Regions from separate parts of the Homo sapiens genome. Here region 2 is linked to region 1. Evidence: promoter capture Hi-C in 16 types of primary human blood cells and fetal thymus (Javierre and others, 2016). All regions are on one chromosome and are shown on one strand. Each heading gives the region's core, a stretch centred on a gene start or on the middle of the fragment in contact. The rest is flanking DNA. Distances are from core to core; before and after follow the strand shown.

The links. The method cuts DNA at HindIII sites, captures the fragments that hold promoters and counts their contacts. A CHiCAGO score of 5 or more calls a contact.
Region 2: the fragment with the promoter of ZNF689 here is called in contact with the fragment with the promoter of GDPD3 in region 1 in 4 of 17 cell types (fetal thymus, total CD4 T cells, erythroblasts and 1 more); the score reaches 10.5 in fetal thymus.

What each region holds. Positions count from the first base shown.
Region 1 is chr16:30,110,574-30,117,360 of GRCh38, reverse strand. It overlaps GDPD3 (glycerophosphodiester phosphodiesterase domain containing 3), which reads left to right and starts at 3,824. Exons shown (of 10, transcript NM_024307.3): 1 at 3,824-4,021; 2 at 4,297-4,339; 3 at 4,568-4,703; 4 at 4,793-4,838; 5 at 4,937-5,055; 6 at 5,140-5,229; 7 at 5,840-5,973. The coding sequence starts at 3,883. MAPK3 (mitogen-activated protein kinase 3) reads left to right here. Exons shown (of 9, transcript NM_002746.3): 6 at 76-207; 7 at 358-467; 8 at 571-725; 9 at 2,653-3,256. The coding sequence ends at 693. RefSeq lists a silencer at 3,559-3,853. The HindIII fragment of the contact is 12,096 bases long and covers 1,787-6,787 here.
Region 2 is chr16:30,607,040-30,613,826 of GRCh38, reverse strand. It overlaps ZNF689 (zinc finger protein 689), which reads left to right and starts at 3,438. Exons shown (of 3, transcript NM_138447.3): 1 at 3,438-3,990; 2 at 4,189-4,302. The coding sequence starts at 3,786. It overlaps LOC124903678 (a long non-coding RNA gene), which reads right to left and starts at 3,353. Exons shown (of 2, transcript XR_007065051.1): 1 at 3,064-3,353. RefSeq lists an enhancer at 2,442-3,411 and a silencer at 3,699-3,748. The HindIII fragment of the contact is 6,999 bases long and covers 841-6,787 here.

The DNA of each region.
Region 1 (6,787 bases), core at 2,575-5,074:
GTTCTTGCCTTGTTGCCTATTCTGTTCCCAGAAAGAAAGAGGTGATCATTTACCAAGTCACCTCCTTATCCACAGGCATCCTGGGCTCCCCATCCCAGGAGGACCTGAATTGTATCATCAACATGAAGGCCCGAAACTACCTACAGTCTCTGCCCTCCAAGACCAAGGTGGCTTGGGCCAAGCTTTTCCCCAAGTCAGACTCCAAAGGTTCGAGAGACATGAGGGTGGGTGTGGGATAAACCTTGGGTGTCGTGGAGGGTGTGTGAGCCCAGCAGCCGCTGGAGGAGACAGGCAAAGCAATGCTTCTCGGAGCTCCTCCAGTCTTCCCTGTGACCCCTGACTCCTGCCCTTCCATAGCCCTTGACCTGCTGGACCGGATGTTAACCTTTAACCCCAATAAACGGATCACAGTGGAGGAAGCGCTGGCTCACCCCTACCTGGAGCAGTACTATGACCCGACGGATGAGGTGGGCCAGTCCCCAGCAGCAGTGGGGCTGGGGGCAGGGGAGCAGGGGGGCACGTAGGCATCCCCCATGCCAGGCCTGAGCCTTGCTGTCTCTACCACCCCAGCCAGTGGCCGAGGAGCCCTTCACCTTCGCCATGGAGCTGGATGACCTACCTAAGGAGCGGCTGAAGGAGCTCATCTTCCAGGAGACAGCACGCTTCCAGCCCGGAGTGCTGGAGGCCCCCTAGCCCAGACAGACATCTCTGCACCCTGGGGCCTGGTGAGTGTCTCCATGGCCCACACATGGACACCCTGATACTAAATATCTATATCTGTATATCTATATCTATATCTATCTGTACATGCCTCCATACAGCAGCAAGCTTACCCCACACCCATGGTCAATGTGTCTGGTGACAACAGAAGTGCCCAGGGGGCTGGGTGTGGTGGCTCATGCCTGGAATCCCAGCACTTTGGGAGACTGAGACTGAGAGGAGTGGATCACCTGAGGGTCAGGAGTTTGAGACCAGCCTGGCCTGCATGGTGAAATCCCATCTATACTAAAAATACAAAAATTAGCCGGGCACAGTGGGTCACTCTGGTAATCCCAGCACTTTGGGAGGCTGAGGCAAGTGGATCACCTGAGGTCAGGAGTCCGAGACCAGCCTGCCTGGCCAACGTGGTGAAACCCTGTCTCTACTAAAAATACAAAAATTAGCCGGGCACGTAGGCATGCGCTTCTAGTCCCAGCTACTCAGGAGGCTGTGGTGGGAGGACTGCTTGAACCTGGGAGGCGGAGGTTGCACCACTGTACTCCAGCCTGGGCAACAGTGAGACTCTCTCAAAAAAAAAAAAAAAAGGGCTGGGCACAGTGGCTCATGCCTGTAATCCCAGCACTTTGGGAGGCCGAGGTGGGTGGATCACAAGGTCAAGAGTTGAGACCAGCCTGGCCAACATGGTGAAACCCGGTCTCTACTGTAAAGAATACAAAAATGAGCTGGGTGTGGTGGCACATGCCTATAATCCCAGCTACTCAGGAGGCTGAGGCAGGAGAATTGCTTGAACCCAGGAGGCAGAGGTTGCAGTGAGCCGAGATCGCACCACTGCACTCCAGCCTGGACTACAGAGCAAGACTCCATCTCAAAAAAAAAAAAAAAAATGCCCAAGGCTGCCCAGACTGGTGGCCCACCGAGTCCTCCAGCCCCAAATGTCTCTGCCTGTCAACACCTTGCATCCTCCAGCCCCACAAGCCATTCTAATCTCCTTCTAGGAACAGAACTGGCAAAGAGGCAAGAGGTCACTGAGGGCCTCTGTCACCCAGGTGAGGACCTGAGCCAAGCTTCAGCTCTGGGTGTGGCAGAAGCAGGTGGGGCCATGATTGCTTTGGGAGGGGCCCAGCAGCGCCCAGCCTGACCCAGATTGCCAGGCCTCCTCACACCTGCTGCCAGATCAGCAGTTCACATAGCTGTGGGGACCCCACTGGCCTGCCCCCACCCACGCTGCCTCCTTGCCTCCTCCGGTCTCTTCCTGTCTTCAGCCAGGTGTGGCCTGATAGAAAGAAGGCATGCGCACCTGGGCTCAAACTCCAGCTGTGCCACTTAGTAAGTGCTGTGTGATATTGGGCAAGGCACCTCACCTCTCGGCGCCTCAGTTTCCGGAGTCAATCTATTTATCTTTTTTTTTGGTTTTGTTTTTTTGAGACAGTGTCTCGCTCTGTCACCCAGGCTGGAATGCAGTGGTGCAATCATAGCTCACTGCAGCCTCAAAACTCCTGGGTGCAAGGGATCCTCCCAGCTAGCTGGACGAGCCATTGCAACCGGCTAATTTTTTTTTTTTTTTTTTGTGGAGCTGGGGTCTTGCTATGTTGCCCAGGCCAGTCTCAAACTCCTGGGCTCAAGCGATCCACCACCTCAGCTTCTCAAAGTGCTGGGATTATAGGCGTGAGCCACTGTGCCCGGCCGAGACAGTTCTAATAATGAAAGCATAAAGCCCTAAGCATTGTTCTAAGAGGTTTACATGTATTAATTCCTTTAATCTTACAGCAGTACCTCAAGCTAGGTACTATTATTATCTCCATTTACAGATAAGGAAACTGAGACCCAGCCTATCCAGCTGTGAGGGTGAAATGAGAGATGTTGAGGTCAGGGCTCCAGTGGGTCTGCCCGGGGGGTGCTAACGACTCCTCTTCTGCCTGCTTCTCTCTTTAGGACCTGCCTCCTGCCTGCCCCTCTCCCGCCAGACTGTTAGAAAATGGACACTGTGCCCAGCCCGGACCTTGGCAGCCCAGGCCGGGGTGGAGCATGGGCCTGGCCACCTCTCTCCTTTGCTGAGGCCTCCAGCTTCAGGCAGGCCAAGGCCTTCTCCTCCCCACCCGCCCTCCCCACGGGGCCTCGGGACCTCAGGTGGCCCCAGTTCAATCTCCCGCTGCTGCTGCTGCGCCCTTACCTTCCCCAGCGTCCCAGTCTCTGGCAGTTCTGGAATGGAAGGGTTCTGGCTGCCCCAACCTGCTGAAGGGCAGAGGTGGAGGGTGGGGGGCGCTGAGTAGGGACTCAGGGCCATGCCTGCCCCCCTCATCTCATTCAAACCCCACCCTAGTTTCCCTGAAGGAACATTCCTTAGTCTCAAGGGCTAGCATCCCTGAGGAGCCAGGCCGGGCCGAATCCCCTCCCTGTCAAAGCTGTCACTTCGCGTGCCCTCGCTGCTTCTGTGTGTGGTGAGCAGAAGTGGAGCTGGGGGGCGTGGAGAGCCCGGCGCCCCTGCCACCTCCCTGACCCGTCTAATATATAAATATAGAGATGTGTCTATGGCTGACCCTGGCTCTGTCTGTGTTCGCGACGCCCCCGCCCTGCCCCGTGCGGCTCTGAGGACAGACTTGACTTGGGCTTTCAGGGGCCTGGTGCCCTTCACTCCCAGCTGCCCAGGGCTGGGGACGGGGCTCTGGAGAGCTCCAGACTCCTAGAAAGAAGGGGGTCAGTTTTCCCCTTAGTCACTGTCCTGTCCTCTCGCTAATGGCTTCCTGTCTAACTGGCTGGGGGTGATTCGGGGTGACTCAGGAGCACCCTACACACCCCTGGATCCTCTGAAATGGCAAGGGGTAGGCATGTTGGATGCGCTGGCTACAAGTACCAGTGAGAGGGAGAGGTCCTGACAGTCCTGGGTGGTTTTTACTCCCCTCATGTAGCCCAGGACGGGGCTGCTGGGGGCTGGGAAGGGCCTGGGGATATGAGAGCCAGGGCTACTTGCCTCACCTCCTGACACTACCCCAGCTTCAGCCGAACCCTGCAGCCTGGCTCCAAGCCAGCCCAGCGGCAGGCTCAGCAGGTCCCAGGGGCGTGGCAGTGGCCAGTAGTAGAGCCGGCCCACACTGGCTAGGCAGGCAGCACAGTCCCGCGGACGGCTGAGCGTGTGGCTGCAGGAGCTTCTGTGGGAGTACGGTCATGAGCCTTTTGCTGTACTATGCCCTCCCTGCCCTGGGCAGCTATGCCATGCTCTCCATCTTCTTCCTGCGCCGGCCTCATCTGCTGCACACGCCCAGGGCTCCCACCTTCCGCATCCGCCTGGGGGCCCACCGAGGAGGTGAGCCGGGTAGGGGTGAGAACAGGTGCCAAAGTGGACAGCACAGAGGGGTAGGTCCAAGGGGGCATGCTAGAAACGGGGCAGGGACCAAGAGAGAAGGAGAGCGAAGTGGCAGGGCAGGGTGTGGACGAGGAAGAAGATGCTGGCGCAGCCTGGGCTGGCTGGGGAGGTGAGGCCAGAGGGAGGATGGAGCCCAGAGAGGGAATGTGGGTGATGAGGTTGGGCCAGGCCCCTAGACCCCAAGCCCCAGAGGCCCACTCCAGTGCCCCCCACAGGATCTGGAGAGCTGCTGGAGAACACCATGGAGGCCATGGAGAAGTGAGTGTATCTGCCCCTGCCCAGGCTGCCATGTGAGGGTGTGCAGGTCGTGGACTGCATCACAGCAAGGGACGCCATTCACTTCCTAGCTGGGTGACTGGCGCCCCCTGGAGGTGGCCTGCACATCCCGCCACGAACTCCGCTCTCACATTCCCGGCCACCTCCCAGCCACCATGCCCCTCATCCCAGTCCCCTGCCCCTGCCCCCCGCTGACCTTCACCCCCACAGCTCCATGGCCCAGCGCTCGGACCTCCTGGAGCTCGACTGTCAGCTGACACGGGACAGAGTGGTGGTGGTGTCACATGATGAGAACCTGTGCCGCCAGTCGGGCCTAAACAGGGATGTGGGCAGCCTGGACTTCGAGGTGGGCCCTGCCCTGACACCCCAACCCCCACCCTGAGAGTCACCATGCCCAATGCGGGCCTCTAGTGACATCCTTCCTGTCCTCCCCAGGACCTGCCCCTCTACAAGGAGAAGCTGGAGGTTTACTTCTCTCCAGGTGAGAGCAAGGGCTTCGAGCCCTGCCTGGGCCATGCCTGCCTTCCTTGGACCTCCGCCTTGGCTTCCCTCTGACCCCTTTTCCCACACCACCCCCAGGCCACTTTGCTCACGGGTCAGACCGGCGCATGGTTCGTCTGGAGGACCTGTTCCAGAGGTTTCCAAGGACACCCATGAGCGTAGAGATCAAAGGGAAGAACGAAGAGCTCATCCGTGAGGTGGTGCTGCAGGCAGGGCTAGGGCGGCCACCGGGGGCGTGAGAGAGGCCTGGCTCTCCCTTCACCTCCTTCTCCTCCTCCCAGATAGCAGGCTTGGTGAGACGCTATGACCGTAATGAAATCACCATCTGGGCCTCGGAGAAGAGCTCGGTCATGAAGAAATGCAAGGCTGCCGTGAGTCCCCCCACCCCTCCCCCGTCCTCTTCCTCCTCCAGGGGCCCCTCCTCCCCAGAGCTGGAGCCCACCCAGCATGGGGACCCGAGCTAGAGGGGTCTGGGAGAGTTCCCAGTGGCGTGGCGGTGGCAATGAAAAGGGTGTGAACTCAGGCCTCGAACACAGAGCCAAGATGTGACTTTTGTTTTTTTTCTTTTTTGAAACACAGTCTCTCTCTGTCGCCCAGGCTGGAGTGCGGTGGTGCGACCTCGGCTCACTGCAACCTCTGCCTCCTGGGTTCAAGCGATTCTCATGCTTCAGCCTCCCGAGTAGCTGGGATTACAGGTGCACGCCACCACGCCCAGCTAATTTTTGTATTTTTAGTAGAGATGGGGTTTTACCATGTTAGCCAGGCTGGTCTTGAACTCCTGATCTCAGGTGATCCACCTGCCTCAGCCTCCCAAACTGCTGAGGTTACAGGCGTGAGCCACCACACCCAGCCCCAAGATGTGACTTGGATCCTGCAGGTAGTAGGGCCTCTGGAATGCCCACCACGGCTCCCCTGCAGCTCATGCCTCCTCTCTGCTTCCCCAGAGCAGACAGATTCTCATGCCTCTCCTTGCCTCCCCAGAACCCCGAGATGCCCCTGTCCTTCACAATAAGCCGAGGATTCTGGGTGCTGCTTTCCTACTACCTGGGGCTGCTGCCCTTCATCCCAATCCCTGAGAAGTTCTTCTTCTGCTTCCTGCCCAACATCATCAACAGGTACCAGTGGGGGGCGGACCTCAGAAAAACTCCCCACTGCTTAGGGTCTCCGTGGAGAAGGAGCCCAGATCTTCCCAGCTCCCCAGCTCCCCTCAGAGATAACCCCCAAGGTCTTTTAAGGACAGTGGTTCTTACCCAGCATTCATGAATACTAAGGGAACTGTGAACACCCTGAAATTCTGTGCATATGTGGAGTTTTAGGATAGAGAGGTAATTTATCCATCTCAGGCCATCTAGCATATTTTATTGAATGTCTACTCTGTCCCAGGTGCAGTTATAATGTGTAAATGAGACCAGTGAGGGTGGGGAGAGGTCCTTGGTGAGCTTACAGTCTGGCTGGGGAGACATTCGTTCATTAATTATAGCACGGCTGTCTCAGACCCTCAGCAGGAAAAGGCCAAGTCAGTGTTCTGCAGGAAGGCAGGGGTTAACAAAGTAACAGCTGGGGAAAGGATCAGGAATTTGGATACTTCGCTGGCACTTAAGCCTAGTCCCTCCCTTTGCTTTACAATTTTTTTTTTTTTTTTGAGACAGTCTTGCTCGGGCTGGAATGCAGTGGCCAGATCATGACTCACTGCGCCTCGACCTCCTGGGCTCAGGAGATCCTCCTGCCTCAGCCTCCTAAGTAGCTGGGAGTATAGGCGTGCAACACTGCACCTGGCTAATTGTTAAATTATTTGTAGAGACAAGGTCTCACTATGTTGACCAGGCTGCTCTTGAACTCCTCAGCTCAAGCGAGCCTCCCACCTTGGTCTCCCAAAGTGCTGGGATTACATACCTGAGCCCCTGGGCCCGGTCTCCCTTTGCTTTCTGA
Region 2 (6,787 bases), core at 2,189-4,688, 500 kb before region 1:
CCACCACCATGCCTGGCTAATTTTTTATATTTTTAGTAGAGACGGGGTTTCACCGTGTTAGCCAGGATGGTCTTGATCTCCTGACCTAGTGATCTGCCCGCCTCGGCCTCCCAAAGTGCTGGGATTACAGGCGTGAGCCACCAAGCCCAGCCTTTTTTTTTTTTTTTTTTTTTGAGACTTAGTCTTACTCTGTCACCCAGGCTGGAGTGCAGTGGCACCATCTTGGATCACTGCAACCTCCGCCTTCCAGTTTCAAACAATTCTCTTCGGCTGGGCCTGGTGGCTCATGTCTGTAATCCCAGCACTTTGGGAGGTCGAGGCGGACAGATCAGCTGAGGTCAGGAGTTCAAGACCAGCCTGACCAACATGAAGAAACCCCATCTCTACTAAAAATACAAAATTAGCTGGGTGTAGTGGCGCATGCCTGTAATCCCAGCTACTCGGGAGGCTGAGGCAGGAGAATCGTTTGAATCCGGGAGGCGGAGGTTGTGGTGAGCCGAGATTGCTCCATTGCACTCAGCCTGGGGAACAAGAGCAAAACTCCGTCTCAAAACAAAACAAAACAAAACAAAACAGAAAACAATTCTCATGCCTCAGCCTCCCAAGTAGCAGGGACTATAGGCATGTGCCACCAAGCCCGGCTAATTTTTGTATTTTTAGTAGAGACAGGGTTTTGCCATGTTGGCCAGGCTGGTCTTGAACTCCTGGCCTCACGTGATCCACCCACCTCGGCCTCCCAAACTGCTGGGATTACAGGTGTGAGCCACTGCTCCCGGCCTCATTGCCTTCTAATTTTGTGACTTTTCCTGCCACATTGTTTGTCTTTATTCCTTGAAAGCTTTGAGGTTAGTGTTTTGCCCATAGTATATGCTTTACAATATTGATTAAAGGGTTAGAGAGATAGATGTGCATGTCACTAGCTAAGAGACATGGCAAATGGTGTATTCTCCTGCTCGCAGGACCCTTGGGGGTGGCATTGAGCTGGTGAAACTCTGCAGTATAACACATACATAGAAGTAGGGGCTAGGGCGGGCGTGGTGGCTCATGCCTGTAATCCCAGCACTTTGGGAGGCAGAGGTGGTTGGATCATGAGGTCAGGAGTTCGAGACCAGCCTGGCCAAGATGGTGAAATCCCGTCTCTACTAAAAATACAAAAATTAGCCGAGCAAAGTGGCGGGTGCCTGTAATCTCAGCTACTCGGGAGGCTGAGGCAGGAGAATCACTTGAACCCGGGAGGCCAAGGTTGCAGTGAGCCGAGTTTGCACCACTGCACTCTAGCCTGGGCAACAGAGCAAGACTCCGTCTAAAAAAAAAAAAAAAAAGGGCTGGGCACAGTGGCTCACGCCTGTAATCCCAGCACTTTGGGAGGCTGAGACGGGTGGATCACGAGGTCAGGAGATCAAGACCATCCTGGCTAACATGGTGAAACCCCGTCTCTACTAAAAATACAAAAAATTAGCTGGGCGTGGTGGCGGGCGCCTGTAGTCCCAGCTACCCGGGAGGCTGAGGCAGGAGAATGGCGTGAGCCCGGGAGGCGGAGCTTGCAGTGAGCCGAGATGGCGCCACTGCCCTCCAGCCTGGGTGACAGAGCGAGACTCCGTCTCAAAAAAAAAAAAAAAAAAAAAATGTGGAGGCTAATGGGGTGGGTGCTGGCTTGTTCCATCAGCAATTTTCAGTTCAGTGCCTTTCACATACATGCTTGTATCATTCTGTTATGATTCATTGTGAATTTATATGCTTTACTAGACTGTAAGCTCCATTCAAAGCATGGCCTATGACTTATTTATGTACGCTCTCCCAATTGCCTAGCACTATGCTTTGTACGTTGAACAAATGTCACGTGAAAATAATGTAGGGAGATTATGCAGAATATTGAACTTGAGAAGAAAACAAGAGCTCAGGTGGATTCCTGGTTTAGCAAGCAAATTAGGATACTGTGAAGGAAGGATGCCTATCAGTGGTATGAATAAAGGCTCTGTCTGCCCCAGGTTTAAATCTTTATTCCCCACTCCTTACTAGCAGTATGGCCCTGGAAACTCATGGAATCCCTCTGAGATCGTTTCTTCATTAGTAGAACCAGGATGATAACCATTGGTTCACAAAATGCTAGTAAAGAATTAATAACGGGCTGGGTGTGGTGGCTCACTCCTGTAATCCCAGCACTTTGGGAGACCGAGGTGGGCGGATTGCTTGAGCTCAGGAGTTCGAGACCAGCCTGGGAAACATGGCGAAACACCGTCTCTACCAAAAATACAAAAAATTAGCAGAGCACTGTGGGTGCATGCCTTCACTCCAGCCTGGGCAACGGAATGAGACCCAGTCTCAAAAAAAAAAAGCGAATAACTAATGGCTCCGGTGCTGTGGCTTATGCCAGTAATCCCAGCCCTTTGGGAGGACGAGGCAGGAGGATCACTTAGCCTAAGGGTTCGAGACCAGCCTGGGCAACACAGGGAAACCCTGACTCAACAAATAACATAAAAAATTAGCCAGGCGTGGTAGTGCACACCAGTAGTCCCAGTTACTCTGAAGGCTGAGGCAGGACGATTGCTTGAGCCCAGGAGTTAGAGGCTGCAGTGAGCTGAGATTGCACTACTGCATTCCATCCCGCCCGGGTAACAGAGTGAGACCCTGTCTCAAAAAAATAAAAATAAGGCCGGGCATAGTGGCTCACGCCTGTAATCCTAGCACTTCGTGGGGCCGAGGTGGGTGAATCACTTGAGGTCAGAAGTTCGAGACCAGCCTGGCTAACATGGTGAAACCCCATCTCTGCTAATAAATATGAATATTAGTCAGGAGTGGTGGCACGCGCCTGTAATCTCACTTACTCGGGAGGCTGAGGCAGGAGAATCGCTTGAACGTGGGAGGTGGAAGCTGCAGTGAGCCGAGATTTCGCCACTGCACTCCAGCCTGGGCGACAGAGCACGACTCTGTCTCAAAAATAAATAAATAAAATAAAAATAAAAAATAATAAAGATGAAATATGTAATATGCTGGGCATGGCGCCTGCCCCCAGGAAATGCTAACCATAATTCCCTCCCCTAAAGGGCAAACAAAGAAGATAACCATTCTCCAAAGTCAAGGATGCTCTGAGAACACCAGTAAAAGGAACTCAGGATAATCTCAGCTCTAACTCGGCCAGAGTGGCTCCATCGCTCAAATCGTTCCCTCCTTCAGTGATTGGCTGAGCCTGCCAGAGTCGAACAGCGGAAAGCAGCCCCGGGGCCTCTTGCTGCCCCCAGGTCGGTGCAAGTCGCTTCACAACTCCTTGTAGTCGCCTGATCCTAGCAGTCCAGCTTCCTGCCCTTATGCAGCTCTTGGCTTCGTTCAAACGGACCGCCTTTGCTAGCACCCAATCAGAACGCTCGATCTTCGGCTCTCGTCCAATGAACGCGCGTATTGGGGAGGGGAAAAAAGACGGCGTGAAGCCCAATCGCAGCGCCATTACACTTGAGGGCAAAGAGGTTAGGAAGCCGGCATGGCGCTCCGGTCAATAAAATCGATAGCTGGAAGCTGCCTGTGTTCCAGGCAAAGGCGGTGCGGTAGCAGCGCCGCCATTTTCCCCGAAGGCATCTTCCGGTGCCTTTCACCCAAGTTCGGGCAGGAGTTTCCTGAATAACAGCAAAAGGTTTCCGTTAGCCCCGCGGGCGACCAATTCCGATTCCCTCCGGGCCTCCCCGGCCACGCTCAGCCCTGGTCCGGCAGGGGCTCCTCGATCCCAGGGGCCGCCAGCGCCCGAGGGCCGAGGCCTGGACACGGAAGGCCGTGGCGCCGGCTTCTCGGGTCCCATGGCGCCACCTTCGGCTCCGCTCCCTGCGCAGGGACCAGGAAAGGCCAGACCCAGTCGGAAAAGGGGCAGGAGGCCGAGGGCTCTGAAGTTCGTGGACGTGGCCGTGTACTTCTCCCCGGAGGAGTGGGGCTGCCTGCGGCCCGCGCAGAGGGCCCTGTACCGGGACGTGATGCGGGAGACCTACGGTCACCTGGGCGCGCTCGGTGAGGCCGGCCCCATCCGCTGCCGCGGGGCGCGAAGGGATGCAGGAGCCGGAGAGGGTGTAGGCAGGGAGGCCACGGTCCTGGCAGGCGACCAGGTTGTCAGGGGAGGTGGGCAGGGGCTTAGCAGGAGGTGCCGTCGGGGAGATACTACTCGGCGTGATCTAGGAGCTGGCCTTCTGATTTGTTCTCTTTCCCCAGGGTGCGCAGGTCCCAAACCAGCCCTCATCTCCTGGTTGGAACGAAACACCGATGACTGGGAACCGGCTGCTCTAGATCCGCAGGAGTACCCGAGAGGGCTAACAGTCCAGAGAAGTGAGTGCTAAATAACCACGCAGAGCCTGCAGCCCTCCTATAACGTTCTACCTCTAACGGCTCTGTCCAGAGTTTTGGTTGGGCTAGGGGTGGGTGCCGCGTATTTAGTATATTCATCTTCCCAGCCTCTTGTGTCTGGTGGTGTGGGGCCGGTCCACCACACAGAGATTCCTATGTCAGTCTGCAAGCTGCAGTTTTCCACTGTGTGAATGAATCAGTGGGCTTATTCTTCGTCTTTTTTTTTTTTTTTTTTTTTTGTAGAAACATTGTCTTGCTCAGTTCGGTCTTGAACTTCTGGCCTCAAGCGATCCTCCTGCCTTGGCCTCCCAAAATGCAGGGGTTACTGGCGTGAGCCATTGCAGCCAGCCAGAATCAGTGAGCTTTTAACAGGTGCTACCCTCTGCCTCCTTTCCAGGATCTCTGCCTCTAGCCACCTTTGAGTTGGACCAAAGAGATCCTAAACTTCTCAGAGTTTTCTGGGTTTTGGTTGAAGGGAGCTCATGGGGAACAGCTGCCTGGGATGCAGGGGCCTCTTTCTGCTCTTACGGCAGGATGACCCTTATCAGCGAAGGACATACTGCAATCTCCTCAGAATCCAACAAGGCTCTGCTTAACCCCATTCAGGTAGAAGGGTCCCAGATCCACCCATAGTAGAAGATGGAGCTGTCTGGGCTGGAATTTCAGAGCCAGATTCTTCAAGACCAGGGATAGCTGTCCAAGATTCAGATCTGACCATGATATTTCCTTGCTTAAAACTTTTCAGTTAATTTTTGCCAAGGTTGTTAAATGGCCATTGGTTATATCTAAATCACTTGGGGAACTTGGTAAAAACGCAGGTTCCAGGACCCCATCCCAGAGCTATTCATTCACTCGTGTGAATGTTTAGGAACTTCCATTTTTTAAATAGCCTCAGCTGATTCAGATGTGCATCTAGGTTTGAAAACCGGCCGGCTGGTGGCTCATGCCTGTAATCCCAGCACTTTGGGAGGCCGAGGTGGGTAGATCACTTGAGGTCCGGAGTTCAAGACCAGCCTGACCAACATCGTGAAACCCCGTCTCTACTAAAAAAATACAAAAATTAGCCGGGCACTATGGTGGGCGCCTGTAATTCCAGCTACTCAGGAGGCTGAGGCAGGGAGAATTGCTTGATCCTGGGAGGTGGAAGTTACAGTGAGCCGAGATCATGCCAGTGTACTCCAGCCTGGGTGCCACAGTGAGACTCCATCTTGGGGGAAAAAAAAAAAGAAAAGAAAACCATTGGGTAAAATACAGTCCAAGGTCTTTAACAATGCTAACAGCAGTGGTTCTCAAAGCGTGGTCTCAGACCAGAAGCAGCATTATTTGGAAACTTGTTAGAAATGCACATTCTTGGACCCTACCCCAGACCTGCTGAATCCAAAGCGGGCACTAGGGCCTGGCATTCTGTTTCAGTAAATCCTCCCAATGATTCTGATCACAGTGGAGTTTGAGAACCATTGGCTTAGAGGGCCTTTTGACCCAGTCACTGCTAGCTCATACCTCATAGGTTTCCATATCTTGCCTTACACTCTTTTGTGTGTGTGTGAGACGGAGTCTTGCTCTGTTGCCCAGGCAGGAGTGCAGTGGCACGATCTCAGCTCACTGTAACCTCTTGCTCCCGGTTTCAAGCAATTCTCCTGTCTCAGCCTCTGGAGTAGGTGGGACTACAGGTGCCCACGATCACACCCGGCTAATTTTTAGTAGAGACAGGGTTTCTCCATATTGGTCAAGCTGGTCTCGAACTCCTGACCTCAGGTGATCCGCCTGCCTTGGCCTTCCAAAGTGCTGGGATTGCAGGTGTAAGCCACCGCGCCCAGCCTGTCTTGCTTTTACACTTTGTGTCTAAGAAGATCTTAGGGCCTGTGCACACTGTACACTGAGCCTTGGGACTTATGTTTCTTTTCTTTTTTTTTTTTGAGACGGAGTTTTGCTCTTCCACCCAGGCTGGAGTGTAGTAGTGCAATCTTGGCTCACTGCAACCTTTGCCTTCCGGTTTCAAGTAATCATCTTGACTCAGTTTCCCAAGTAGCTGGGATTACAGGCGCCCGCCAGCATGCACGGCTAATTTTTGTATTTTTAGTAGAGACGGGGTTTCACCATGTTGGCCAGGCTGGTCTCGAACTCCTGACCTCACAGTCCGCCCACCTTGGCCTCCCAAAGTGCTGGGATTATAGGAATGAGCCACTGCGCTTGGCTGGGACTTACGTTTCTAACACTGCATAATTTTAATTCTTTTTTTTTTTTTTTTTTTTTTTTTTGAGATGGAGTCTCACTCTGTCATGCAGGCTGGAGTGCAATGGCGTGATCTTGGCTCACTGCAACCTCCGCCTCCCAGGATCAAGTGATTCTCCCACCTCAGCCTCTGGGTAGCTGGGATTATAGGCACCTGCTATTGTGCCCAGCTAATTTTTATATTTTTGTAGAGACGGGGTTTCACCATGTTGGCCAGGCTGGTCTTGAACTCCTG